Regions from separate parts of the Homo sapiens genome. Here all the other regions are linked to region 6. The links are contacts of gene promoters, found by promoter capture Hi-C in blood cells and fetal thymus (Javierre and others, 2016). All regions are on one chromosome and are shown on one strand. Each heading gives the region's core, a stretch centred on a gene start or on the middle of the fragment in contact. The rest is flanking DNA. Distances are from core to core; before and after follow the strand shown.

What was found. Contacts are between HindIII fragments. The CHiCAGO score rates a contact against its expected background, and 5 or more counts as called.
Region 1: a contact is called between a fragment that was not itself captured here and the fragment with the promoter of GABARAPL1 in region 6, in 5 of 17 cell types (naive CD8 T cells, total CD8 T cells, naive CD4 T cells and 2 more). The highest score is 7.0, in naive CD8 T cells.
Region 2: a contact is called between a fragment that was not itself captured here and the fragment with the promoter of GABARAPL1 in region 6, in 7 of 17 cell types (naive CD8 T cells, total CD8 T cells, neutrophils and 4 more). The highest score is 7.8, in naive CD8 T cells.
Region 3: a fragment that was not itself captured here is called in contact with the fragment with the promoter of GABARAPL1 in region 6 in 1 of 17 cell types (neutrophils); the score reaches 6.3 in neutrophils.
Region 4: a fragment that was not itself captured here is called in contact with the fragment with the promoter of GABARAPL1 in region 6 in 1 of 17 cell types (total CD8 T cells); the score reaches 5.1 in total CD8 T cells.
Region 5: a contact is called between a fragment that was not itself captured here and the fragment with the promoter of GABARAPL1 in region 6, in 2 of 17 cell types (total CD8 T cells and naive CD8 T cells). The highest score is 5.3, in total CD8 T cells.
Region 7: a contact is called between a fragment that was not itself captured here and the fragment with the promoter of GABARAPL1 in region 6, in 1 of 17 cell types (neutrophils). The highest score is 5.4, in neutrophils.

Annotation. Positions count from the first base shown.
Region 1 is chr12:10,623,058-10,626,910 of GRCh38, forward strand. STYK1 (serine/threonine/tyrosine kinase 1) reads right to left here. Exons shown (of 11, transcript NM_018423.3): 8 at 1,594-1,802. Among named protein-coding and RNA genes, the nearest start is that of MAGOHB, 11 kb to the left of the region's middle. The HindIII fragment of the contact is 2,973 bases long and covers 103-3,075 here.
Region 2 is chr12:10,602,937-10,606,568 of GRCh38, forward strand. MAGOHB (mago homolog B, exon junction complex subunit) reads right to left here. Exons shown (of 5, transcript NM_018048.5): 5 at 1,257-3,438. The coding sequence ends at 3,339. Among named protein-coding and RNA genes, the nearest start is that of MAGOHB, 8.9 kb to the right of the region's middle. The HindIII fragment of the contact is 3,342 bases long and covers 1-3,193 here.
Region 3 is chr12:9,859,058-9,862,758 of GRCh38, forward strand. It overlaps CLEC2B (C-type lectin domain family 2 member B), which reads right to left. Exons shown (of 5, transcript NM_005127.3): 2 at 3,442-3,516. The coding sequence starts at 3,514. Among named protein-coding and RNA genes, the nearest start is that of CLEC2B, 8.4 kb to the right of the region's middle. The HindIII fragment of the contact is 4,734 bases long and covers 85-3,701 here.
Region 4 is chr12:9,808,875-9,813,036 of GRCh38, forward strand. It overlaps a transcript of KLRF1 not described here. Among named protein-coding and RNA genes, the nearest start is that of KLRF1, 17 kb to the right of the region's middle. The HindIII fragment of the contact is 590 bases long and covers 1,225-1,814 here.
Region 5 is chr12:10,582,372-10,586,308 of GRCh38, forward strand. No RefSeq gene overlaps it. Among named protein-coding and RNA genes, the nearest start is that of MAGOHB, 29 kb to the right of the region's middle. The HindIII fragment of the contact is 5,981 bases long and covers 1-3,937 here.
Region 6 is chr12:10,210,509-10,214,460 of GRCh38, forward strand. GABARAPL1 (GABA type A receptor associated protein like 1) reads left to right here and starts at 2,369. Exons shown (of 4, transcript NM_031412.4): 1 at 2,369-2,711. The coding sequence starts at 2,622. It overlaps GABARAPL1-AS1 (GABARAPL1 antisense RNA 1), which reads right to left. Exons shown (of 3, transcript NR_170310.1): 2 at 3,546-3,861; 3 at 3,141-3,454. RefSeq lists an enhancer at 1,606-2,148 and a silencer at 2,242-2,501. The HindIII fragment of the contact is 15,130 bases long and covers 1-3,952 here.
Region 7 is chr12:9,790,926-9,794,558 of GRCh38, forward strand. No RefSeq gene overlaps it. Among named protein-coding and RNA genes, the nearest start is that of CD69, 32 kb to the left of the region's middle. The HindIII fragment of the contact is 568 bases long and covers 1,754-2,321 here.

The DNA.
Region 1 (3,853 bases), core at 339-2,838, 410 kb after region 6:
TTGCCTTTATTCTTAGCACAAATTCAACCAAGTTTTATCATTTAGTCACTATTTTCTCAGTAGATTTAATTGCCCAAACCTAGGAAAAATATTAACAGGGCAAGCTTTATATATAGTTGAAATAGGTATTTGCCTAAGCAATATGACTTGAGAGGTGTATAGTTCACTATTCTGTAATATCATTATTGAATGATTAATATTTTACAGTTAAGTTTATTACCCCCAGATGTCTATTGAAAAGCAGATGTCAGTGAAGCAACAATGGAAATCTCATAACTGACTCATCATATTAACTGATATTCTAAATTTCCTCTGCTGCTCATGGCATTCATGGCTAGCAGGATATTCTACATTACATCAATGCACTTCTCCAAGCAATTGAGTTATATGGCTACCAAAAGTCAATTGTGATTCTTTATGATCCTGTTAATGCCAATTTTACATGTAATTGCAATTATATGTAGTTATATAATCAATTAGGTATTTTATATATGGATTAAATGCAAAAAAGTGTTATCTTCCTTCAAACAAAGTTTGAAGGAAGTTGAATGTTTTGAAAACTAAGTTGAATGTTTTGAAAATGATTTATAAAAATAAACTGCTGAAAAAGAAAGTCTTGTCAAATTGTGTGAGGGAGACAACTTAGAAAATTGGGAAAAGTAACATCAAAAGTCTGCAGTCAAACAATTTCACAATTATTTTCAGGTTTCTCATGCTACCTAAAATCATTCTGAACTGGAACTCAAAAATAAATCATTTTTATTTACACTAAAAGATACTATTTACACTAAAAGAACAACGTGTAACTTCATTTGGGAAACTCATCCTTATAAAAAGAAGCCTTGCCCCTCCTTGAAAAAAACAGATAATGTACATTTATAAGTTTTATGTTAAAATAAGTTATTGAAGGTATGTATATTTCTTTTTATTTTAACAATGTATGGGTTAACTGGCCTTTTGGTTATTCCTTCAGATAAAACAGACTTTACTAGATTAAGTCCTCAGATATTGATGTGAATAATCTTTTCACTTTTTTTTTTTCTAATTAAGGCTGCTAATCTAATACAGAAGAAATACTTGAGGCTGGGCATGGTTGCTCATGCCTGTAATCCCAGCACTTTGGGAGGCGAAGGTGAGAGGATCACTTGAGCCCAGAACTTCTAGACCAGCCTAGGCAACATGGTGAACCTTGTCTCTAAAAAAAAAAGAAAAAAAAAATAGCCAAGCAGGGTGGTGCATGCCTGTAGTCCTAGCTTCTAGGGAGGCTGAGGTGGGAGGATCGCTTGAGCCTGGGTGGTGGAGGCTGCAGTGAGCTGTGATCATGCCACTTCACTTCAGCCTGGGCAACACAGTGAGATCCTGTCTTAGAAAAGAAAAGAAGAAAAGAAAAGAAAAAGTTGAAAAAGTACCAAAAAGGATTGCAGACAGATGACAAACATGAACTCTGTCACATAACATTTCTGCTTGAGAGTATGTCTGATTTCTAAGTAGAGATTATATTCGTATACAGAATTGGCAACAGATCAAATCATATTCAGGGACAACACCCAAGTCATGAAGAAAGTAAACTCAGAGTCCAGGAATAAACCGTACACATCTGCTCTGATGCTAGCAGGTCTCAGGAGAAGCCGTTCTGGGGCAAGCCACTTGAGAGGTATGGTTTGAGTAGAGGAGATGGCCCCTCGGGTGTAAACTTCATAAGCCAGGCCTAATCCACAGAGCTTAGCAGTGAGATCACTTTGCATCAGAATATTCCTGGCTGCCACATCCCCATGGAACAAATGCTTCTCCTGCAGGAATTCCTGTCAAGATAAAATCAAATATGATCAGCTGTCTGAGATCACAGCTTGGGTCACAGACAAGGAGAGGCAGTCCTAGGAATCTTCAAAAACACAAGGACATTTTCTACTCTGAACAAGTCTCACTAATAATGATATGTCACTTCCAAAGCATGCTAATGAACTGCACATTTCTGCATTGTGTTTAGGATTACCAAATTGAGCAAATAATTCAAATGACATTAATACTGGATTTTGAAAATATAATCACCTCTGTTTCAAACACTGACCCCTGCCTGATTTTCGTTTCCCGTGAGAAAGGACCCAGCTAGACACTGGAAAAGGGAGTAGATTCCAAGTTTCTTTCTTTTTTTGTTTGTTTGTTTGTTTGTTTGTTTGTTTGAGACAGTCTCGCTCTGTCACCCAGGCTGGAGTGCAGTGGCGGGATCTCAGCTCACTGCAAGCTCCGCCTCCTGGGTTCATGCCATTCTTCTGCCTCAGCCTCCCAAGTAGCTGGGACTACAGGCACCCGCCACCACGCCTGGCTAATTTTTTGTATTTTTAGTAGAGACGGGGTTTCACCATGTTAGCCAGGATGGTCTCGATTTCCTGACCTTGTGATCTGCCCTCCTCGGCCTCCCAAAGTGCTGGGATTACAGGCATGAGCCACTGCACCCGGCCTGATTCCAAGTTTCTAGCAGTAGTCCTCAAAACAATGTAATACGTACCAAAATTGAGTATCATAATGAAAAATGTATATACATATCTCACTTTTTCCCCTAAAATAACTGCATGGGTTGAATTCAGAAATTTTCTTTTAGATAAATCTAAATGATTACAAAAGGCCACAGAGTTATTAAGCAGTAGTGACCAGAACCAGGTATTATAATTCATAGGATGTACTATATAAACTCTACTAAAAATTTTCAAGTCAGTCTGCATATTGGAATTGCCTGAGAGCTTTTTAAACATAAGATTTTCACCCCAGATTTAATAAACCAAAATGTAGGAAGAAAGACCTGGTAACCGACATTTTTAAGATGTATCAAATTCTAGTACAGCCAACAGAGCATCGGAGAGCCATGGCACCCTATGATAATTGATTTTTGGAGTAATTTCCAATGGCATCAACCTATTCAAGGCATAAGAAGAAAGTTGCAAAACTATACATGACTGAAGATCTAGATATTGAGGGCTGTGATTACTAAAAAAGGATGGTATAGAAAATTAGAAGGTAAAGGTGATAATTTCCAATCACTGATGACAAAGAAAACTAGCAGTTTTCTGTGCCTGGTGAAGCTTTAAAATAAGAAATTATAGTGCCATGATAAGAATTAAAGAATGTAACTGACTTTGAGCTTGTTAAAAGTAAGAAAAAAATAGCATGATATTGCCTTGTAACAGGTAGCATAGGGTCCTGATGAATGCACCAATTTGACCAATTCATCCCTGGACGGCGCCTCTGCAATTGCGGTTCTGAATACAGGGTAGGCTGTATCCTGACACTCTTTATCAAGGGAACATATCAACGAGGCCATTCAAACACCATAGACAATATTCACGTATATGATGTGTACTCTCCCTTGTCCCATGGGAGCTTCAACCATAACTATTACTCTTTACCCACCTTAATCCTTTTTTTCTAACCTTTTCCTGATTCCACTTACATCCCTATATTTCACACCTCAAAGTAGCAAGATATATCAAATACTTAAAACAGTAGCTTCACAGAACCCCGATTTTCCATAGCAAATGTTAATTTTAAACACAACCATTTAAATAATTTCATAGAAATAGACATATAAACTTCCTGGGTAATTCTGGTAAAGGTAAATTTTTTATCTTAAACCCTGAGTTCTTTCTCTTATCTCGTTATTTAAGTTGTTTTAGGCCGGGCACGGTGGCTCATGCCTGTAATCCCAGCACTTTGGGAGGCCGAGGCGCGCGGATCACGAGGTCGGGAGATCGAGACCATCCTGGCTAACACAGTGAAACCCCGTCTCTACTAAAAATACAAAAAAATTAGCCGGGCGTGGTGGTGGGCGCCTGTGGTCCCAGCTACTCGGGAGGCTAAG
Region 2 (3,632 bases), core at 273-2,772, 390 kb after region 6:
GGTCTGAATCACTTCACTGGGAGGACTAACCTCACCCAGACAAGTTGCCATCTCCTTTTTTATTTGTTCTAATGCCTAACTTTTATCCCACTGCATGACACTGAACTTCCTGGCTCTTATAGTAAAGAAAAAGATAAAACGAGGCCGAAGCAGGCACAAGGTCAGGAGATAGAGACCATTCTGGCTAACACGGTGAAACTCCATCTCTACTAAAAAAAATACAAAAAATTAGCCAGGCGTGGTGGCGGGCGCCTGTAGTCCCAGCTACTCCGGAGGCTGAGGCAGGGAAATGGCATGAACCCCGGAGGCGGAGCTTGCAGTGAGCCGAGATCGCGCCGCTGCACTCCAGCCTGGGTGACAGAGGGAGACTCCGTCTCAAAAAAAAAAAAAAAAAAAAAAATCTCTAGCTTGAGATTTTCTGTTTCCCTAATCACCCTGTTTGTCTTTCTTGTCTTTACAGTAAAATACATTCAAATGCTCTAAGTTTAACATACATTGTCCCAACTGAACCTCTAGTAATTGATCAAACAGCAACCATCCTTCCTCTTATTTCTGAGAAACCAAACAAGAGGGCCACCTCAGGAACTAAGTTAACTATGATGACATAATGGCAAAAAAAAAAAAGGATTCCCGATGGCAATTTAAGAGAAAATAGTTAAGCTGATCTGTAATTAAGACTTCTGATTCTTAAATTAGTATTCTCTCCACCACATCACACAGTTCAAATTAGGACAAGGTAGATGCCAGAGATTTTGAGTGGTAGTTATCCAACTTTACTGATCATCATACGGAAGTCAGCCAAGGCAGATTCTGAACTCACCCTCAAATCCTTCATTTACCTTTGTTGTTTATTAAATTTTTAAAATTTTCTATTCGACTTCATTATCCATTCATGCTAGGAATCCAGTTATTAATTAAAGGGGTCAGTGGTTAAACTTACAGCACAGTCCATGCTCATAGGTTCACACATTTCAAATCAAAACGAAGTAGTCTAACAATAGAATATATAAATCATCTCAGTTACATTAATATTTACATTAAAAATATCCATACAAATAGACTCAGCCTGATACCAATGAAATACCAAAGATAAATAATCTAAAGGCAAATAATCTAAGGACAGAGCAAGACAGCAACCAATTCAACAAACTTAAAAAACACCTACTATATGGAAAAGACTGTGCTAGGGTTCTGCACTATCTCATGAATGGGGAAGAGGTGGGATGAGGTGCAGACAGTACTTGGAAAAAGTCTGATTATTTCAAGTGGTCTCTTTATTAAGGAAGGAGGTAAAAGGAACATAACCTGAGCGCAATAAAAATCTAGTTTCATATAAAACTAGTATTATACAAAATTCAGTTTCTAATGATCACTGTCCATCAGCAACTTACAATCAAATAAAAGACAGATCAAAGTATAAGAAAATTGTAGACGGTAATATTTTCCTAATGACCTAGTCTCCCATCTTGGTTTAAATATGAGAAATTCTAGTAGATAGTGGGGATAGAGCTAAATAAACGAAAACGTAAGGAAGTTAGAGAACGGGGACAAAGACTTAAAGATTTTTCAACGTAAGCACTATTTCTCCTCAACCTTGTTCAGTTTTTAATGGATCATCTTATTCAACAGGAGCCACAACCTGTTTTGAGGAACAACCAACAACTGTGGGCCTACTGGAAGTTCAAAAGACGATTGTTCCTGTTTCTGAGGTTGACATCTAAATGCAAGAAAATTACAATACGATTTCATACTGCACAATCATCAAGGTCTACAACTGGAACAGAAACATTTTACATACAAAAGACCTGAAGATGATAGCGTACTTGCATAATGAAGTGGAAATCATTTGACTTTCCATGGCAAACCTGAAGACAATGGGCATGCATTTTGAGGAGTGAAAAGGACCATCTAGTGCTCCATGGCAAACAGGTTACCAAGCCATGCTCTAGAGCTATACTGTCCAAACGGTAGCCGCTAGACACGTGGCTACCTAAATTTAATCAAAATTAAATAGCACTACAAAAAAAGTAGTTTATTGGCACCAATTACACCAGTTAAGTGAAAAACCAAGATTTATTATAATAGAGATATTACAGTAAAAAAGATGTTAAGTATAGAATCTAGGTAGGGGTAGGCATATAGGTGTTCACTTTATAGTTCTCAAGAGTTTTTAATGTTTTATCCTTTTCACGTTAGAAAAAAATTGTTTAAATAGCACCATAAATTCAGTTATACAAGGCACACCTCAAGTAATCAGTAGGCCTCATTTGGCCAGTTGCTACCCTATTGGACTGCACATAGAACGTTTCCATTATTGCAAAAAAGTTATTGGACTGCCCGACTCTAGAGCCTACCTGCTCAGGAGTCCTGGCAAGCCTTCAGAAACTAATTATTCCACCCAAAATTCAGTGCTAACTTGTTCCTAGGGCAAGTGGATTATAACTACTGGAACAGTGCAACTTTTTAAGAGTGGGGCTTCAGATGGAAGAATAAAAGGAAACAAGGAACATGGTTACTAAAAGTAATGAAAGAGGAAATCTATCAGAAAGAGGTTGAAAGGAACTGGGAAACTGAAGTGAGACTCGTGGTCAATAGGAGTTAAAAATATTTATGTACATTCATACATACATATATGTTTGTCTAAATGTTTAACAATTTATAAAGCTGAAAACTCATTTAGTTCTCCCCCCTCCCCTACACACCAAATACATTGTGAAATAAGGAATAAAGACATAATCAAAGATATGCCTAACATGGGGTAGACTGTACTCTTGTAACACTTTAGGACCTCACTGCTTATAACTGAAAATATTTAAATGTGAATAATCCCTGAGGGGTTTGTCATAACTGTAAAAAAAAACTAGACCTTGTATAAGCCCCCCAAAATTAAATCCAATCATGTATGAAGGAAATAAGGGACAATCTACACTTGCCTTTCATGGATGGGAATCTGGCTACATAGTTCCACCTAAAGTATCTTCTGTCACAGGATATATCTACCAGAACAATTTCTTATTATCTCTAAAGTGAATTAGAGACATAGCCTCCTGGAAAAAACAAAAAACTACTCTGCAACCAGGATTTGGTATGTTTTATTAGAGCAAATTTTTAACAAAAGGTGGCTTTCATTTACAGAATTTAATGTGTGTGGGGACTGTCCAACCCATATGGACTCAAGTAAGGATAACCATTAAGCTTGCTAATGTATTTTCTTATTTTCAGTTTACATACAAATTTTTTTTGTTTGCTTCACATTCATAAAAACCCCAATACTGTAAATGACAAATAACCCCTCCCATCCCTTAATTAAATATACAAACAGCCTGAAAACATACAATTTAAATTGGTTTAATCTTGAAGTGTAATCCAATAAGACTGAAAACTAAACATTTCAAGTCTTGTACCAAATAGTAAAATACTCGAAGGCCTTCAGGATCCCTAAAATTTAAAAAGGTAAAAGTTACTTTTTCTTCCTAGGATAAAACAATTCTTTAAATGCCTAAAACAAAACAAATCAAAATCTCATAACAATTAAGTTAACAAAATTTAGGAGAAAGGAAGGATTTTGCTGACAACTAAAATGAACATACAATTAATATCTTTTCTATACGAAAAAATAGTTTCTTCATCAG
Region 3 (3,701 bases), core at 1,202-3,701, 350 kb before region 6:
GTCTTCAATGTTCTTTCTCAAAACACAGTAGCATCCAAACTTATGGGATTCAACTAAACTTGTGGGACACAGCAACTCCCTTAAAGCTTACAGGAAAATTTATTGGCTTAAGATTATGTTTTAGAAATGATGAAAGACTTTTTGAAAAGATAATTATCCTACCTTACAAAGTTAATAATAGTGATAAATTAAAACCAAAGTAGAAAGACACAATTTAGAAAACAAAAAGAACAGAAATCAATTGAATAAAAAATTAATGCCAAATAGAAGAAAAGTTTAAAGTCATAAGATGACTTTTGTTGAATACTCTAAAACAGGATTGACCACTAGGAAAACTGATTTTAAAAAATGTAACTGTGAGAGATAAAAACACAAATTAGCAACACAAAGAATGAAAAAGTAGAGAAATTTCTAGAAGAACACAATTTAACACAACTGACAAGATAAAAGCAGCATATCTAAATAACACTATATCTAGTTAAAAAATTAAATCTTTAACTTAAAAAATTGCACAAAAAGAAATCTCCCTGTCCAGATGGCTTCAATTAGAAATACTTCTAATCGTTTAGGAAAGGCATAACACCAACGTTATACACACTCTTTCAGAAAATAGGATAGGAGGGAATACTTTCCAACCAAATTTTAGAAGCCATCATAATCACATCAATACCTGATAATAGTATTGAAAGAAAGAGAAACTATAGGTAGATCTTTTATGAAGACGTAGGATATATGTGCATATATCTTAAAATACTATTCAGCTTAATTGAAGAATGTTAAAAGGTTAATAGGTTATGATCAAGTTGAATCTATCACAGAAATTGAAGATTATCTTATCTCAATATTACAAAATCTGTGTAGTTCTACATATTAGCAGAGAAAAGAAAGTATCTCAATAGATCAAGATAAAGCATTTGATATTTTAAATTAAATTAAAGGGAAGTAAATAAAACACCTTTAATCTGATTAAGAATATCTGCAAATACTACTACTAAATTGGGAAATATTAAAAAAATTTTACTGATTTAAGAATGAGACAAACATGTAAGCTGTTACTACTTATACTCAACCTTATACTGGAAGTTATAGCCAGTAAAATAAGAGAATACAATGAATAAAAAAGGCATAAGGTTTCCAACAGAATAGGTAAAACAATTATTATTTTCAGATAATGTAAATTTTTACATAGAACTTGCAAAAGAAACTGAAGAAAATTTATGAAAATGAATAGTTAACTATAGCAAATTTGTTATATGAGGCTTATATAGGTATATATTAAATTTATATAGATAATTTTTATAGGCCAGCAAGAGACTAAATAGGACAATAGTGTTAATGAAAATACTTCTATGCTAGTTACAATTGCATTATAGCGCATTGAGTCTTTAAAAAATTCTTAAAAGGATGTGTGTGAAATCTATTCTGAAAACTAAAAAATTGCTGGCAGAAATTACGGAACACCGAATCAATATTTTAAATGTATGATTCAATATTAAGATAATGATTCCATGAAAATTGACTATGGTTTAATGCAATCTCAATCAAAATTACAGATAATTTATATGGCAGCTTAAAGGATCTAAAATGCTCCAGGTAAACTTGAAGAATAAAAATAAAACTTTTAAAACATTTAAACAACCAGACATCAAGACTTAATTATAAACCAACAGTATTGAGACAGAATGATATAGATACAAAGATAGATAAAATAGAGTAAATTAATGTAATAAAATTTTAGCAAAAATGACCTTCACCTACACAGTTGATTGATGACAAAGACCAACTGCAGTTGAGTAGGGAAAGTATAGTCTTTTTAATAAGTTATTTCAGGTTGAAAGATTAACTAAATGGGAAATAATGCATCCTAATATCTATCTCCTAAAATTTATAAAAATCAACTTCAAGAGGACTATATTTTGGAAAGTGAAAGGAAAATAGAAACCCTACAAAAATATTTTTATGTCTTTGAAGTAAAGTGAATTTCTTAGAATGAAAAATATAGTGACAATAGAGAAAGACACAATTACACTACTTTAAAATTCAGAAGCTCTGTCGATTGAAAGACATGACACAGAGGGTAAACTTCAGCTTCATAGTTAAAGAAGATATTTGCAATACCTATAAACTACAAAGAGTCTCATCTAGAATATTAAACAACTCTTATGAACCAAGCAGAAAAAGAGAGCTAACTTACTAAAATATGGGGAAAGTATTGAAACATTCCCATCACAAAATATTACACCTAAATAAACAACAATTATGAAGGTACTGAACAGTATTGATCATCAGAAAAACGTCAATTAAAGCCCAAATCGGGTAACAACATGCACTCACTGGAATGGCAAAAATTGATAAAACCAACAATAAAGTATTGACATGGCATGGAGCAATTGGAATTCTCATATACTTCTGCTGAGATTATCTACATTTTTGGTAAAATACACTTAAGCTAATCTATGCGTATTCTGTGCTTAATAATTCTTCTTATATCTCAAGTTATTTCCAGTATTCATTAAAAGACAAAAATATAAAATTATACAGTTGTTCACAACCACCCAATTTGCAATAGTCAAAATGTAACACGATCCAAATGTTCATCAAAAGTGATACATAGCAGTGAATGCACTATACTAAACATCCGCTAATACAGCCTGAGGCCAACTCAGCTCACCTTCTGTTTTTGTACAACCACCAGGTAAAAATAATTTTTACATTTTAAAAAGAAATAAAGTAATCAAAATAATTAAAAATGAACAATATTTTGTGACATATAAAATTTTATAATATTTACATTTCCATGTTCAATTTTATTGACACACAGCCATGGTCAATGTCTATGCATTTTCTATGACTGTGTTTCTATGAAAAATTAAGTAGTTGCAGCAGAGACTGTATGGCTAACAAAGCATAAAATATTTACTATCTGGGTCTTTTTATAAAAAAAATTTCAACCTTTTTCCATAATAGTGAGTTAATGAACTTCTGCTACCTATGATGACATTGAAAAATCACACAAGCATAATGTTGAATAAAAGGGAAAAGATACAAAGATACATGCAAATTGCATGACTGTATTTATGATACATGCAAATTGTATATTGTATTTTATATGTATTTAAATTTGATTATATTTATATAAAATTTTTTAGTAGGCAAAACTAAGCTATAGCAATAGAAGTCAAGATAGTGATTAACATAGGCAAGAAAGTGTTGAATAGAAGTGAGATTATCAGGGTGAATAATTTTACCACAATAATTTTGGTATCTCTGATGCCTTACATAGGTCATGTAATTAATAAAATTTATTCATTTGTACCAATTAAATGTTATCATGTATAATGGGAAGATAATGAGATACTGAGAAAAGATCATGACTGAGACAGAAAGGAATAGGATCACACATAGAAAGCCATGAAAAATAAAATGAAGGATGTAACTTACCTATCAGAGTAATAATATTAGTTGTTATTAAAACACCAACAATTATAAAACACTTTTTATGTTTGGTCATCATACCTGAAAAATAAAAATAAAGACATTTAGGAGACTTCTGGCTCCAAAATGATGGCATAAAAGTAAGTTGGCTTTAATGTCCCCCACAGAAAACAACAACAAAATATTAGTGCTGTGATTATCCCCAGCAATATCCTAGAATTCAAATATGAGAAGAAGACAATTCCTGGAGCCACAGGAAAGTGAAA
Region 4 (4,162 bases), core at 270-2,769, 400 kb before region 6:
AGAATGCTATAATATCTACATGAAAGCAGTGCTACCTCAGGTTAGGTGCCATTAGTTAGGAGAGAGATCATTTTCTATATGCCAGAATGTTTTGCATTTCATTCTCTCTTACTCCACATTTTATAAATGCTTAGGTTAATATATTCAATGTATAGATGACATACAACTTGGATATCTAATACACTGAGTAATAGAATCATAAACTCCAAACATTCTGCATTTCGGAGAAAATTGAGAGTTTAGCGAGATGAATTTTTTAAGTGTATTAAAATCTAAACTGAAGAAGTTAACAAGATGGGAAGAATTGCCTTTATTTGTAGATGTATGCAAGAGCACTAGGGGAAATTCAATGACCAACAAGCTCAAAATAAGATTGTGTGAAGTAATGAATTTTAGGTAAAATCAATACAAATATATCTAAAAAGAAAGGGTGGGACTTTTTTCCTCCATTCCTGGCCCAATTCTTTGAAATAATTTTTATGTGATTGTTTCAAACCATCTTAACTTTCTCTTAGTTTTCCTCTGCATACATGCACATATGTAAATGCCTACTTTTAAGAGTACAGATGAGAAAAAACAGGGATTTGAATTAGTTGAAACCGTAACTTAAGTATTATTTCCAGGAACTAAAGCTACTTAGCCAGAATCAGGAAAAGGGCTGCTGGGAATAAGTTTGTTAACGTAAATTGTTCCAACAGCTGTCATATTGATGTTACGCTTAGTTTACTGGCTCCAGAAGGCAGAATTGATACCAATTCTTGAAAGAAGCATCCATATACCCCAGTTAATTTTGATTATGTCATGAGATTTTGTGTAGTATTCAAAGATAAATTGTTATTATTGTTGGAAAAAGCGGGTTACTTAGATTTAAACTTAGGTTAAGAAAATTGATTTAAAAAAATAAGTTCCACTTTCAAAAGTTGTTATTCTATTGATAAATCTGTTTTTTTTAATGCTGCTTTATTTGATGTAAAACTACTGTTTTGAAAATATTGACTGTGCCTATGGATTAATGTATCAAACAAAATCACCCCATGAATAAATCAAATATTTATTTATTTACCTGAAGTATACAAAAGGAGAATGACATAAAGATCAATTAGCAAGGTTGATAAATCTGCAAGAAACAAGCTTCTCAGTCCTAAATTTCATCATTAAATCACTGAAACTCAGAGTTGTGAATGACAACATCTGAATAGTGAGTGTCAACATAGATTTTCTACAAGCTTGAGGGTTTTTATCTAGGAACAATTCTGTTTGTAGGTCATCCTGGATATATTCAAGGGACCATTATTTTTGGTATTATACAATATAACTTGATGTTCTCATAGTCAAATGTGAATGCATTTCTCATACTTTATCTGAATCCTCCCAAATTAACAATGTGGTCCAAGTATATTCCCAAAATTAGAGTTTCTGAGCCTGAACGGAAGTTAAGCTCCCAGAAATCGCAGGTAGCTGTGTTAATAAGTGGTTAGAATAACTAGGGCTTATCTTTTGTGTGTCCTTTGATAAATTTAAACAAATTAAATTCCTCTCCAAGATAGGTCTGATTCACAAACTTAATGACTATATGCTTAAATTTTCACCTATAGTTTAATGAAATGTTTGTTTTTAAAAGATGTTTGAAGTCTAAAATAGACTCCCCAAACAGTGTCTGACATGTAATAAGTCCTCAGAAAATAATTCATAAATATTGAATGACTAGTAGGATATTAAAATGTGGTCATTCCTGCTGTTTACTTTTATCTGAGGGCACAAATGTCAAGAACAATTCTATAGGTGCTAGACCTCCTATATAGGACATGCTAACAAGCTTGCAAAAGTGTTTATTTCAAATTTCGATCTATCATCTACTTTCAGAGCACATTAAGAGTTTATGAGTGTTCAGAGATTAGGAAGTGAGAATTTTTTTTATGAAGTGACTTGCCAGTGTACTTCCCATTTCCCAATATCTTTCTGTGTCAATAAGCAAAAGAACTTCTCTTTTACCTTAAGCCAAGTTTGGATTCTGTCATATATTGGCAAGTGTCCTCTGGGAGTTGGAGGTTGCAGAGGTGAACACTTTCAGTATGTGAGTTTGTTAGAACTACACATAACCACAGAGTAAAAGCAGATGTGTAGATTAAGCCACACTTCCAGCAATGGTGAGGCTGAAGGGAGTGTTTCCTGTGGGCCGGATGAAGATCTCATACAAAGCAGCCATTTGGGAACCATCCTAAAATAAAATTCACCTAAGACTGCTTCTTACCACAGGCAAGTCAGCCTCAATGAAAAGAAGCTGGAAGTATAGAGTAGAAAGCAAAAAAAAAAAAGGTACCTGGGGAGTTGTGAGGGGTGAGGTACAGTGATTTGCAAGCAGGATTGCCAAAGGAGACATCACACATCAGACAACTGCAGAGTACCCCAGGAGCAGAATTTCTGAAAAACCCATAGAAGTAGTCCAAAAAAAAAAAAAAAAAGAGAGAAAACATTTGGAGTGTCAGCATACAGATTAAAACTGTCCAGGCTGGTAACATCTTTATTCCGTGTTTATTTCTATTCCCTTTGTTTCACCTTCACTCATTCTGGGGATCAGGGTTGGGGAATGGAAAGAGATACTAGAGAGGGAAGAAGCTCATGCAGAGCCCGTTATACTCACTTGCCCCCTTAATGGTCCCAAACTAAGCAGATCCAATCCAAGCTGAGAGAGAGGAAAAGTGTTAAATTAGATAAAAGTTGGACTTAAGATATTAGGCGGAATTGGATCTTTTATTATCTTCATTATCAAAAGACCATGAGATCCACAAAGGAAGGAAAGGAGAAGACTTTATTTTCAGAGGGAAAAATAACCCTAGAATTAGGGAAATGCAGCTTTCGGGAAAATCCGAAAGTTCACTCTCTGAAGAAGTGAGAGGGGGCTGGTATACATGTCTTATACAGTCAGTTTTACATACATACTGAGCAGGGTTGGGAAAATTCTGTGAATACTTATGAATATTCATGAAGGAAGTCAAGCACTAGTGCATTGGGTAAGCAGATGTAACATGCACCCCACGGTCACTTTGGGATGGTGTTTTAACATTAAATCGGGTGGAATTTGGCTCTTTACCTCAAAAGGTGAACTATAGCGTACAAAAATAGTTTGTACATAATCTCCACAAGCTGTCTGTAACTGGTTTAAGGTCTGTGGCCATTCATCAATAAAGAATGTTTATAAGATTGGGTCTGGCCGGGCGCGGTGGCTCACGCCTGTAATCCCAGCACGTTGGGAGGCCGAGGCGGGCGGATCATGAGGTCAGGAGATCACGACAATCCTGGCTAACATGGTGAAACCCCGTCTCTACTAAAAATACATAAAATTAGCCAGACGTGGTGGCGGGCGCCTGTAGTCCCAGCTACTCGGGAGGCTGAGGCAGGAGAATGGTGTGAATCCGGGAGTCAGAGCTTGCAGTGAGCCCAGATTGCACCACTGCACTCCAGCCTGGGCGACAGAGCGAGACGCCGTCTCAGGAAAAAAAAAAAAAAAAAAAAAAAGATTGGGTTCTTTTTCCAATCTGAGTTATGGTAGGACAGTCTGACTTATGGCAGGACAGCAAGGCTGGGGAGAAGGTTGTCCGCTGGCATCAGGCAATCTGTCAAGATATTTTGGAAATTTCCCAGCTATGGTTGTTTTGGCAATGCTTTTCAGTATTTCCTTCCTGTTTAATTATGGGAAGGAAAACTTATGGCAATTAATAACCCTGGGATACCTGACTAGTCCCTCATCCTGCTATCTATCAGATTCTGGTTTCTCATTTGTTTGTCTGTTTCTGTTATTTTACCCACAGGGAGTCTGTTTCATGTTCCTTGGGGTATATTTTATCACCTGAAATACAGAGGATAATATTTATTACCTTAGAGAGAATGGAAAACTTATGGGAATTGCCTATGATGTGGGAAGAAATCAGTCTGACTTCCTAATAAGCAGGGGCAGTTTTGAGACAGAATATTGTTGTTGCTTTCTCTTTTAATGCAGTTTGACCGTATTTGTCAAATCAGTTACTTATTCATTTAATTTTGTAGTGTTGTTTAAGCATTTCAAATGCTTGTACACTTGGAGGATATGAGAGCATTCATCATCAAGAGGTAAAACTTCCATGGGGGATGGGCCGATCACAGAGTGGGTGGTCAGCCATTGGGT
Region 5 (3,937 bases), core at 547-3,046, 370 kb after region 6:
GATGAAGCTGGAAACCATCATTCTCAGCAAACTAACACAGGAACAGAAAACCAAATATTCCATGTTCTCACTCATAAGTGGGAGCTGAACAATGAGAATACATGGACCTAGGGAGGGGAACATCACACACTGGGGCCTGTTGCGGGGTAGAGGGCAAGGGGAGGGAGAGCTTTAGGACAAATACCTAATGCACACAGGGCTTAAAACCTAGATGATGGGCTGATGGGTGCAGGAAAGCACCATGGCACATGTATACCTATGTAACAAACCTGCATGTTCTGCACATGTATCCCAGAACTTAATACTTTTTTTAAAAAAAGAAACATAAACATTAAAGCAGAAATGAAAAAATAGAGACTAAAAAATACAGAAGATCAACAAAACAAAGTGTTAGTTTTCTGAAAAGATAAAATGAACAAACCTTTTGCTAGACTAAGAAAACAGAGAAGATCGAAATGAATAAAATCAAAGATGAAAATGAAACATTACCACTGCGTATTTTTTAATCCATTTTTGACGCTTCAACCTTTCCTGTTTCATGCTGAGATGAGATCATCACCACATCCTACTCTAGTCAAATAAGAAAATCTAATCTTGAGTTACAAATTTATTAAAATTCTTTAATGATAGAATTTCTTTTCTATGGACACTGAAAAACTCTTCTCTACTGCTATATACCAAATATTTATGTCCCCCAAAAATTCATTTGTTGAAACCTTATCCCCAGTGTGATGCTATTTGGAGATAGAGACTTTGGGAGGTGATTAGGTCATGGGGCTCGTGCCCTCATGAATGGGATTAGTGTCCTTATAAAAGAGATTCTAGAGAGCTCCCTTGCCTCTTCCTCCACTAGAGAACACAGCAAAGATGGGCATATGTGAAGCACAAAGCAGGCCCTCACCAGGTACTGAATTTGTTAGCACTTTGATCTTGGACTTCCCAGCCTCCAGAATTGTAAGAAATAAATTTCTGTTGTTCATAAGCTACCCAGTTTATGGTATTTTGTTATAGCATCCCAAACAGACTAAAACAACTATGTACCAAGAAACTGATATTTTAGTTCCCAGGACTATGCCATGGGTATAATTCATTCATTCATCAAATATTTATTTAGTGACTACTGAGGAAAAGACCCTTTAATGCACTGTGGATACAACATATAAAAAACAAAGATCAATTTTAAGGTCTAGTAGAACACATAGATTAGTGGATGAGACAGAACAAAACTTTAAAATACGTGAAGCAAAAAAAAAAAAAAAATAACAGATAAGTAGACAAGTAAAAATAATATTTAAACATTTAAAAACCATTCTTTCAATAATTGATAATTAGACCAAAAAATCATTAGGACAATAGAAGATCTGAACAAAGCTACAATCACCTTCACCCAATTGACATTTATAGAACACTCCATTCCAATAGAGCAAAACGCACATTGTTTTCAAGTATATATGGAACATTTATCATGATGGGACCATATACTAGGACATATAACAAGTATTACATATTTTAAAGTACTAAAATAATATAGTATATTTTCTGGACACACAGAAATTAAATTAGAAATCAGTAACAAAATTGTATCTGGAAAATCCTGAAATATTTGGAAATTAAGCAACTTTTTTTTTTTTTTTTTTTTGAGACAGAGTCTTGCTCTGTTGTCCAGCTATTTTTTTGTATTTTAGTAGAGACGGGGTTTCACCATGTTGGCCAGGCTGGTCTCCAACTCCTGGCCTCAAGTGTTCCACCAACCCTGGCCTCCCAAAGTGCTGGGATTACAGGTGTGAGCCACTGCACCCCGCCTAAACAACATACTTTTAAGACATGAGCCAAAAACAATTACCTAACAAAATTTGTGGTATGCAGGAAAATAGCACTTGAAGGGAAATTTATAGCTTCAAATAGTTATATGTGAAAAGAGGCTTTCACTTATGAAGTCAAGATAATAAAAGCAGTTAAACTCAAAATAAGTAGAAAAGGTTAATAAAATGGATATAAATCTCTAGCTAGACTGATCAAGGAAGACAAATAAATACAACAATATCAGAAAAGAAAGAATATAACTACAGGTCTTGCAGACAGTAAATACATAGATAATAAAGGAGTATTATTGTTATGGGTTGAACTATGTCCTCCAAAAATGTATGTTTAAATCATAACCCCCATACTTGTGAACGTGACCTTATTTGGTAACAGGGTTGTTTTGCAGATGTAATCATGTTAACATGAGATCATTAGGGTGGGCCCTAATCCAATATGACTAGTGTCCTTATTAAAAGAGAAAACCACATGTGAAGGCAGAGATATGCAGGGAGAAATTCATGTGATGACAGAGTCAGAAATTGAGGAAGAAGCTGAAAGTGCAGTAACACCAGGTACTGACAGCCACCACTGGATGCTAGGAAGAGGCAAGGAAAACTCCATCCAGAGCCTCAGAAAGAGAGTGGTCCTGTTAACACCTTAATTTTGGACTCCTGGCCTCCAGAACAGTGAGAGAATAAATCTCTGTTGTTTTAAGCCACCAAATTTCTGGTACCTTGTTACAGTAGCCCTAGGAAACTAATATGACTATGAAGAACAATATGCCAATAAATTTGACAATGTAGACAAATGAAACAAGTTTCTTAAAAGACAAAGATTAACAAAATTGACAGAAGAGACAGAACGTCTAAATGGCCCTGTCTGTTAAAGAAATAGTATTCCTAATTAAATACATTCTCCCAGAGAAAAGCTCAGGCCTAGATTATTTCACTGGTAAATTAGATCAAACATATAAGGAAAGAAAAATACAAATTCTGAAAAAAAAAACTTTCAAAAATAGAAGCATATTAAAAAATATCCCAAATGAATATATAAGACCAGTGTCTTCCCTATACTGTAAACATTAAAAATTTTTAAAAAATAGACCAATATCTGGGGCCGGGCGCAGTGGCTCACGCCTGTAATCCCAGCATTTTGGGAGGCCGAGGCGGGCAGATCACCTGAGGTCGGGAGTTCGAGACCAGCCTGACCAACATGGAGAAACCTTGTCTCTACGAAAAATACAAAAAACTTAGCTGGGCATGGTGGCACATGCCTGTAATCCCAGCTACTCGGGAGGCTGGGCAGGAGAATTGCTTGAACCCAGGAGGTGGAGGTTGTGGTGAGCCAAGATTGCGCCATTGCACTCCAGCCTGGGCAACAAGAGTGAAACTAGGTCTCAAAAAAAAAAAAAAAATTGACCAATATCTTTTATGAATATAAACACAAAAGTCCTTTAAAAATTACCCAATTAAGTTCAGCAACATATAAGGAATATAATATACTGCAACCACATGAGATTTATCTAAGAAGTGCAAGTTTTGTTTAACATGCAGAAATCAATCAATGCAATTCACCATATTAAGTGACAAAATGAGAAAGGCTATGTAATTATCTCGATATAGAAAAAATGTATAAAAAATCAACTCCCATTCATGATAAAACTGTTAATATATTAAGAATAGAAGAAAACTGCCTCAAAATGATCTAGAGAATCTGTGAAAAACCAACAGCTGACCTCACACATCACAGTGAAAAACTAAATGCTTTTCTCTGTAAGACTGGGAACAAGGAACGAATGCCTACTAGAATCAGTTCTCTTTAACATGGTCCTGGAGGTCCTAGCCAGTACAATGAAACAAGAGAAAGAAAAGAACGAAAGGAAAAGTAAAACTTTCCATATTCTTATAGGACATGATTGTGAACATAGAAAGAAAACTCTTAAGGAATCTACAAAAAAAAATTGCTAGAAATAAGAAGTACACTTAGCAAAGTGATAAGATATGAGGTTAATTTACAAACTCAATTTTATTTCTATAAACTAACAACAAATACTTTGAAAAATATTTTAAATTCCATTTAAAATATGATCAAAAAATAAATTTTACAAAATATGTGTAATATATTCTAGCCAGGT
Region 6 (3,952 bases), core at 1,119-3,618:
TGAATCCAGGAGGCAGAGGTTGCAGAGAGCCTAGATGGAGCCATTGCACTCCAGCCTGGGCGACAAGAGAGAAACTCCATATCAAATAAATAAATAAAATAAATAAAATCCATGAGTTATTTTATCACATTATATGTTTATAATTTTAAGTCTTACTTTCAAATTGAAAACAGTTTAATTTTCAGTCGCTCATGTTAGGTTTTTTTTTTTTTTTTTAGACAGAGTCTAGCTCTGTCGCCCAGGCTGGAATGCAGTGACACGATCTTGGCTCACTGCAAGCTCCCGCTACCACGCCCGGCTAATTTTTTTGTATTTTTAGTAGAGGCGGGGTTTCACGTGCTAGCCAGGATGGTCTCGATCTCCTGACCTCGTGATCCACCCACCTCCGCCTCCCAAAGTGCTGGGATTACAGTCGTGAGCCACTGCGCCCGGCCTCATTTTAGTTTTGATGCAAATATAGTTAAACCCTCCCGGGTTCTCCCTTCCGGGTTCAAGTGATTCTCCTGCCTCAGGCTCTCGAGTAGCTGGGGACTACAGGCGAGCGCCACCAGGCTCAGCTAATTTTTTCTGTATTATTAGTAGAGACGGGGTTTCACTCGTCTCATGTTGGCCAGGATGGTCTCTATCTCTTGACCTCGTGATCCACCCACCTTGGCCTCCCAAAGTGCTGGGATTACAAGCATGAGCCAACGCGCCCGGCCTATTTTTATTTATTTATTCTTTTTGAGACAGAGTCTTGCTCTCTCTCCCAGGCTGGAGTACAGTGGGCGATCTCAGCTCACTGCAGCCACTGCCTCCCGGATTCAAGCGATTCTCCTGCCTTAGCCTCCACAGTAGCTGAGACTGTAGGAGCGCGCCACCATGCCTTGTTAATTTTTGTTTTTTCTGTAGAGACAGGGTTTTGCCATGTTACCCAGGCTGGTCTTGAACTCCTGAGCTCAAGCGATCCTCGGCCTGGGCCTCCCAAAGTGCTGGGAGAACAGACGTGAGCCACCGCGCCTGGCCCCCTGTGGGTGTTTTTAAAATTAGAGACACTGAGACCCCGACTGAAGAAGATAGGCCACGGGGCTGCTGTTATCTAATATTTATCAGAACTCACCCGACTTGTATGGGCAACGCAGCCCCTTTTCACTGTTCTTTTTCTTTGCAAACTCCACAGTCCTCCCTGTCGCTGCCCTACAGTACTGGTTGGAAGGTCTTTCTTCTTTGACTCTAGGTGGGGAAATCCAGAACGAGGCTTCGCCTCACCTGCCCTAATGCCCAATCTTCTACTAGCATTCCAGGCAGCGCTTTCTAGTCACGTGAGGGATACCTAACCACTGGAACTAAATAAGATGTGGGGGAACAACTGAGGTCATCACCTAAATTGCTTGATACTCTCTTTTCCAGAAGACGAGCCCCCTTTCTGAGTTTATGGCAGAAAGTGAATCCCTCCCTCCCTCCCTTCCTTTCTTTTTCTGTAAGACGGTGTTTCGCTCTTGTTGCCCAGGCTGGAGTGCGACGCCGTGATCTCCGCTCGCCGCAACCTCCGCCTCCCGGGTTAGAGCGGTTCTCCTGCCTCAGCCTCCAGAGTAGCTGGGATTACAGCCATGCGCCACCACGCCCAGCTAATTTTGTATTTTTAGTAGAGACAGGGTTTCTCCATGTTGGTCAGGCTGGTCTCGAACTCCTGACCTCAGGTGATCCGCCCGCCTCGGCCTCCTGGGATTACAGGCGTGAGCCACCGCGCCCGGCTAGAAAGTGAATCATTTCTATATTTGATTGTACGTGAAGCCCTCGGTAGTCCTTACTGACATCATGTCTCCTTTAGACTTTGATTACACTCCGTGTCCTTCATCTGACTCCTCTCTTCAGATTCCTGAGTCACGCTCTGTTTATGTTGCTGTTCAGGAGCGAACTGCGGCACCGCCCAAACACTGTGACGCCAGCGCGGGAGGAGGGCCGCGGGAGGGGCAGCGGAACGCGCAGAGGGCACGGTGCAAGCACGGGACAGCTCTGCATTGGCCAAAGGGATCCCAGGAGGCCTGGCCCTCTTTTCTCCTGAGGCTGGATCCCAACCAGCAGGAAAAGGCTGGATTTTCGCCTTTTGTATTTGTTTTGGGGCCCAACCAAGAAAAACAGTGGAGGGGGAATAAAACATGTTTAAATCTTTTTTTTGTCTTAAAACCATCTTTAATTTCACAGTCACAAAATAAAACATAACTCGAATGTTTTGATGTTTGCAGTGACATCGATTGTGAAAAAGGTTAGCCAGAAAGGAAACGCAGTGAGACAGAGCGCTCGGCCACCCCCTGCCCTGGGCGCCTGGCGCATGGGGGGCGGGGCGGGGCTCGCGGGGTGACGTCACAGCCCGACGCGCCACCCAGCTGTTTTTGTGCTCCCAGCTCTAGCGAAAAGCCGCCGGTATTTCTCCATCTGGCTCTCCTCTACCTCCAGGCAGGCTCACCCGAGATCCCCGCCCCGAACCCCCCCTGCACACTCGGCCCAGCGCTGTTGCCCCCGGAGCGGACGTTTCTGCAGCTATTCTGAGCACACCTTGACGTCGGCTGAGGGAGCGGGACAGGGTCAGCGGCGAAGGAGGCAGGCCCCGCGCGGGGATCTCGGAAGCCCTGCGGTGCATCATGAAGTTCCAGTACAAGGAGGACCATCCCTTTGAGTATCGGAAAAAGGAAGGAGAAAAGATCCGGAAGAAATATCCGGACAGGGTCCCCGTGAGTGTAGAGGAGCGGAGGGGATGGGAGGGGAAGGGCCCGCGGGGGCGGGGGCGGGTAGTCGAGATGGCTTCCCTGGGGCGCCCAGGCGGCTCTGGAGAAGGGAGGTTCCGAGAATTACTTAATCCTGAACGCCCTTCAGTGCCAGAGCCAATGGACGTCCAGACTGTAGAGCTTTTAAAACCCCGTATGCCTGGGCCCCGAACCCCACTTCAGGGCTGACGGCGTTTTGGGGGCCGAGCCGCCGTCTTCAGTGACTCAGCAACCCACACACGGTCTCAGCAGCTGAGACCGTGTGTGGGTTGCGGTGCACAAAATAGGGCCCCTGTGGGCGAGACTGGTTAGATCGGGGCCATGGATTGGCTGCCTTTAAGAACGCAGGGACATTGTGCTGTGCGGTGAGGTTTGCGCAAACCCAGTCGATTTCTGCCTTGGCTGGTTCTCCTTTAATGAAGTTGACTTTGGCTCTCATATCATTGGTCTTGGGACGAAAAGGTTCAGAAGCTATTCAGTAATTTTCTTGCATTACAGGGGGTTAGGGGAGCACAAGACAGTCCTGGCCTGGAAAACAAGGTCACGTTCTCTGCCCAACAGCCCTCTTGCCTCATCGTTCTAGGCTCCGGGGCTTGTGTGGGGACAGCCAGCCTCCTCGTGTTGATTTCTGATCACCTGGTACCTGGTCGCGATAAGGCAGGACTGAGACGTTTTTTCTCCGTTTTGGACACCGGCTTAAGTAGTTAAAACTACCGCAGGCAGTGAGTAGGAACAGAAAAGTATTAGGTATCTTTCAGCATCCGGGCGTTTTCCCCATTACCCCCTCCCCCGCCCACTTGCCTGGTGTTTCTCTAATGCAGGCTGCGCAGCCGAATTGGAGGGCAGAATATGGCTTAAGTGGTAGGGGGACCAGCAGCTGTTGGATTTTGGAAATGGAGGAGCGGAGATTTTAAAATTGTGCTCTTTATCTTCAGGTAGGAACATTAGTATTACGTGTCACATAATGGTAAAATAATTGCTGTTATCTGATGTCTTTTCTTGACTCACAGCCACTCTGGGTTTCTTCTCTAATCCTTACCTAACGTTCGTGGTTTTATAGCTACCAGAAGCCACCAGGGCCTTAGCCCAGCAGTAGAAACCTCTTGTAACCCTTTTCCTTTAAAAAGAAAAAAAAGTCATTAGGGCTCTTCATTCCCCAGGAATTACAAAAAGGTTTTCAGCTTATAGAGGGGTGAGCTAATCCCTTA
Region 7 (3,633 bases), core at 788-3,287, 420 kb before region 6:
TGTATCATTTCAATGAACTACTATAGGCAGCCCATCCCTTAAGTTTCCCTCTTAAGTTTTTTGGTCAGCTTTTCCTTTGCCCCAGCTGTTATTCCATATTAAGCAGCTGCAATGTACAGCAATAGGTGCTGATTGTTTTTGTCAAATACCCCTAGGGAAAAAGTCATTTGCACTGAGCGAGCTCTGTTTGAGATCAACTAAAGTCGTAGGTGGGAATTTCCAAGATCATGTTTGATAGTTTGAATAATGACAGTACTCTAAGAATAATTTTTGGGACTTCTAAACCCTTTATGGCCCCTCTGAGACCTGTTGGGCTACAGTTCACTACTGCTACTATAGTTGTAAGACCTACTATAGTTTTTCAAGGCTACTGTGAAGCTGAGGAATACGGAATAGGAATAGAGCAAGTTAAATCTCCACAAAGGTCACTGTTTTCAATTAAATTCACCTATTTTCTTGAGTAAATGCTTGCCAGATTTTTGCAAGTCTTTGGTTAATTCACAGTATTCTGAGGAAGTTTGTTTTGACAGTTTTTGTCAATGTTCTTGTTGATTTTATGAAGGAATAGCTTTTTGTAGGTCTTTATTCCACTGTTTCTGCTCATGTCTGGCAAGACAATTAAGCAGGTAATTATGAGGGCATGTAGAACACATCTTGGAGAATTTATTCTCAAGGTGGCATTCTATAAAATTATGTAAATATTTAATCTGAGAAGTGAAAGATGAGACAGTTTTCCAGGTGAATAAGGCAGAGGAAAAACAACAACAACAACAACTTTGTAGACAAGGGTAAAATGTACAAGTCTTAGAGATGGGAGAAAGAATGGTCCACTACAGTGAGACTGAAGAATGGAACAAGAGACAAAGCCAGATTACAGGGTGAAATCAATGCTGTTAAATAGTCTGGAATTATTCTAAGTGCAGAAAGAAAGTAATAAATTCTTATAAATTTGGGACAAATTGCAATTAGATATTAATTTTTGGAAGTTAACAGGTGCAATTTTTGGAAGTTACTCAGTCTAACAGGTGCAAGATGAACTGGAATAAAGGGATACCATAGAGAGATGACTGCCTTTAAGACCAATGCAGTGGAAGTAGAGATGATGGAAAGTTGTTGAATTAAAGACATTACTAGTCATTACAGTCTATGATTTATTAGGTAGGGTCATTTAATCAGAAAAAAATGCAGACAGAGAGTCAAGGATGGCCTTCATGCTTTGATTCCTAAAACTGTGGGCAGTATTCTTTCAAATGAGTCAGAAATTAGGGGGTAAAATTAGATTTAGAAAAGAATCAAAATGATCACTTTTGTTTCTGGAATATGTGGGAGATTGAGTTGGATATTTTAATGGACTTTTGGATATATGCTGCTAGCCCTAAGCAAAGGAGTCTGATCAGGAAAATTTATCTATCTATCTATCTATCTATCTATCTATCTATCTATCTATCCATCTATCTATCTATCTATCTGCATATATGTGTGTATATATGTATATATATGTGTGTGTGTGTGTGTATATATATATATATGTCTTCCTTATCTTTTGATTTAAAAACTGGTTTTCCATTTACAATGGGTGCAATGGTGTGTCTCCACTTTGGACTGAAGCCTCATTGTCTCAGCACCTGGGAGTCAGAAGCTTTCAACTGAATCTTCCTTGTATGGCTCTCAGCTAAACAGAAGTGCCTTCTCAAAGTCACACTTTCTCCCAGTGCCAGATGTATCAAACGGCTGGTTCGTGTGGGAGTATAAAAGCTTGGACTTGTTGCCTTATATCAAGATAAACTTGAAAGGGCACTCACCTCCAGAGCTCCCTATACTGTTAGCTGAAGCCTTTGTGTTACTGCATCACAATTCAATATCTGCCTTTGCCCAATCCTTTCTTTCTCATCCACAGGTACTTAACATCCTTTATGTAATCCTTCATCTGAGAGTCTGTTTTTGAGGAACCTGACCTGTAACACAGCCTGAAGAAATTTGGGGACAAATCCTAGCAAAAAATTGGGATATCATTCTTGATGTATTTATTTTTTGGATGATACATATCATTTTACTCCCTAAGAGCCATACCAATCAATACTACAAAAGAATGAGCAAACGGAATTTCTCTGCAGCCTGTATCTCAACAAGATCTGCTCCTCCAACTCCTTGCATCTGGCATTTTTTGGGGGATAATCATAAGGAATGTTTTGACTCTCTGATAAACACACAGAAATGAACATTTTGTAGGAAACCATAAACATGAGTCATACAGATAAAAAGCAAACATAGTTCTATTTACTGTCATCAGAGTATGTAGATCAATATTTTATTGCATTGGAAGCTTCATCTGCCATTTTTAAAGTAATCATTTCAACCAGGAGGATGGTATATTCTGACTGAAAACCTCCCAGGACCATATTATGTAGGCAAATGATTTTTTCCAAAGAAATAGACAGGAAAGTGGCTGTAAAGACAAAATGTATACCTTTGACTATAGTGGCTAAGGCCGTATCTCTGTGTTTTTTCCATTGACCACATGGTTGGTTTGAGTCATAGGTGTACTGAGTCAAATGGAATTGAATGATAAAATCAAGGAGCACTTTGTATCCAGAAGTACAGCAGAACATATCAAATATTAAATTGATGCATAAAATAGGAAATATCTTTGTTTACCTACATGTTAATACTAAAAAGTACTATTGCCCCATGCTTCACGATGAATATCAGGAAAGTAAGAACCATGGGAGATAAAAAATGAATTAACATAGTCTCCGACCTGTGTGTCTACAGTTGAATTTTATACATATAAGCCTTATAAATAAAGCATTTTACCTGCAAAAAAAGTGATCATAAAATAATATGATTACACAATTACACAAGGTGATAAAAGGAAAAGTTCTAATAAAGGGGCTAAGGAGCCGTGTGATAAACCAGTTGTAGGAAATATACTTCTCAGTCTTGCTTTGGATGTTGGAACGGTTTTTGAATGTCCTGGTTTTAGGAAAACTCACCTTCTACCTTTCTTCGAAACTTCAGAATTCATTTGCAACCAAATAAGGAAGTAACTCCTACGCATCTGTTTCCTATACACGTTTCTCTTCATTTCACCACAAAACTATGTAATTTATAGGAAGTCAATTTAACTTCTTTTCTTAGAAACAAGAAGTTACAAATTTCAAGGGTATTTTTGGAGGTATTGGCGGTTTACAATTTCATTCAAGGTTATTGTCATAGTTTGTTACACTTTTTAGTATAAGAAAAGCCTAATACAAAATATGTCAAACTAGCAAATAATTGAATTAATTTAAAAGAAGATAAAATGAGAACATTAATAAGAAGAATAAATATAGAACCCAACGTACCTTGAATTTCAGTGAAGCAACAAATTGTTTTTCTTAAAATATCTGTGTTTATATGAGCACTAAGTGGGCTGGGATTGTAAAATCCTGTTAGTAACAGCGGAATCACCTTTGTATCATGACAATGATGAAATTACTGTCTCTTGTCACAGCTGTGTGATTTGACTAATATAATTTGGCTTATATAATTCCCCAGCAATTAAATCTACTTTTCTGATTACACTACACCTGCACCTTAATAGGTGTATTTAGCTGGGGAAATAAAAAATCATGCTGAAATGTCTCATTTAAA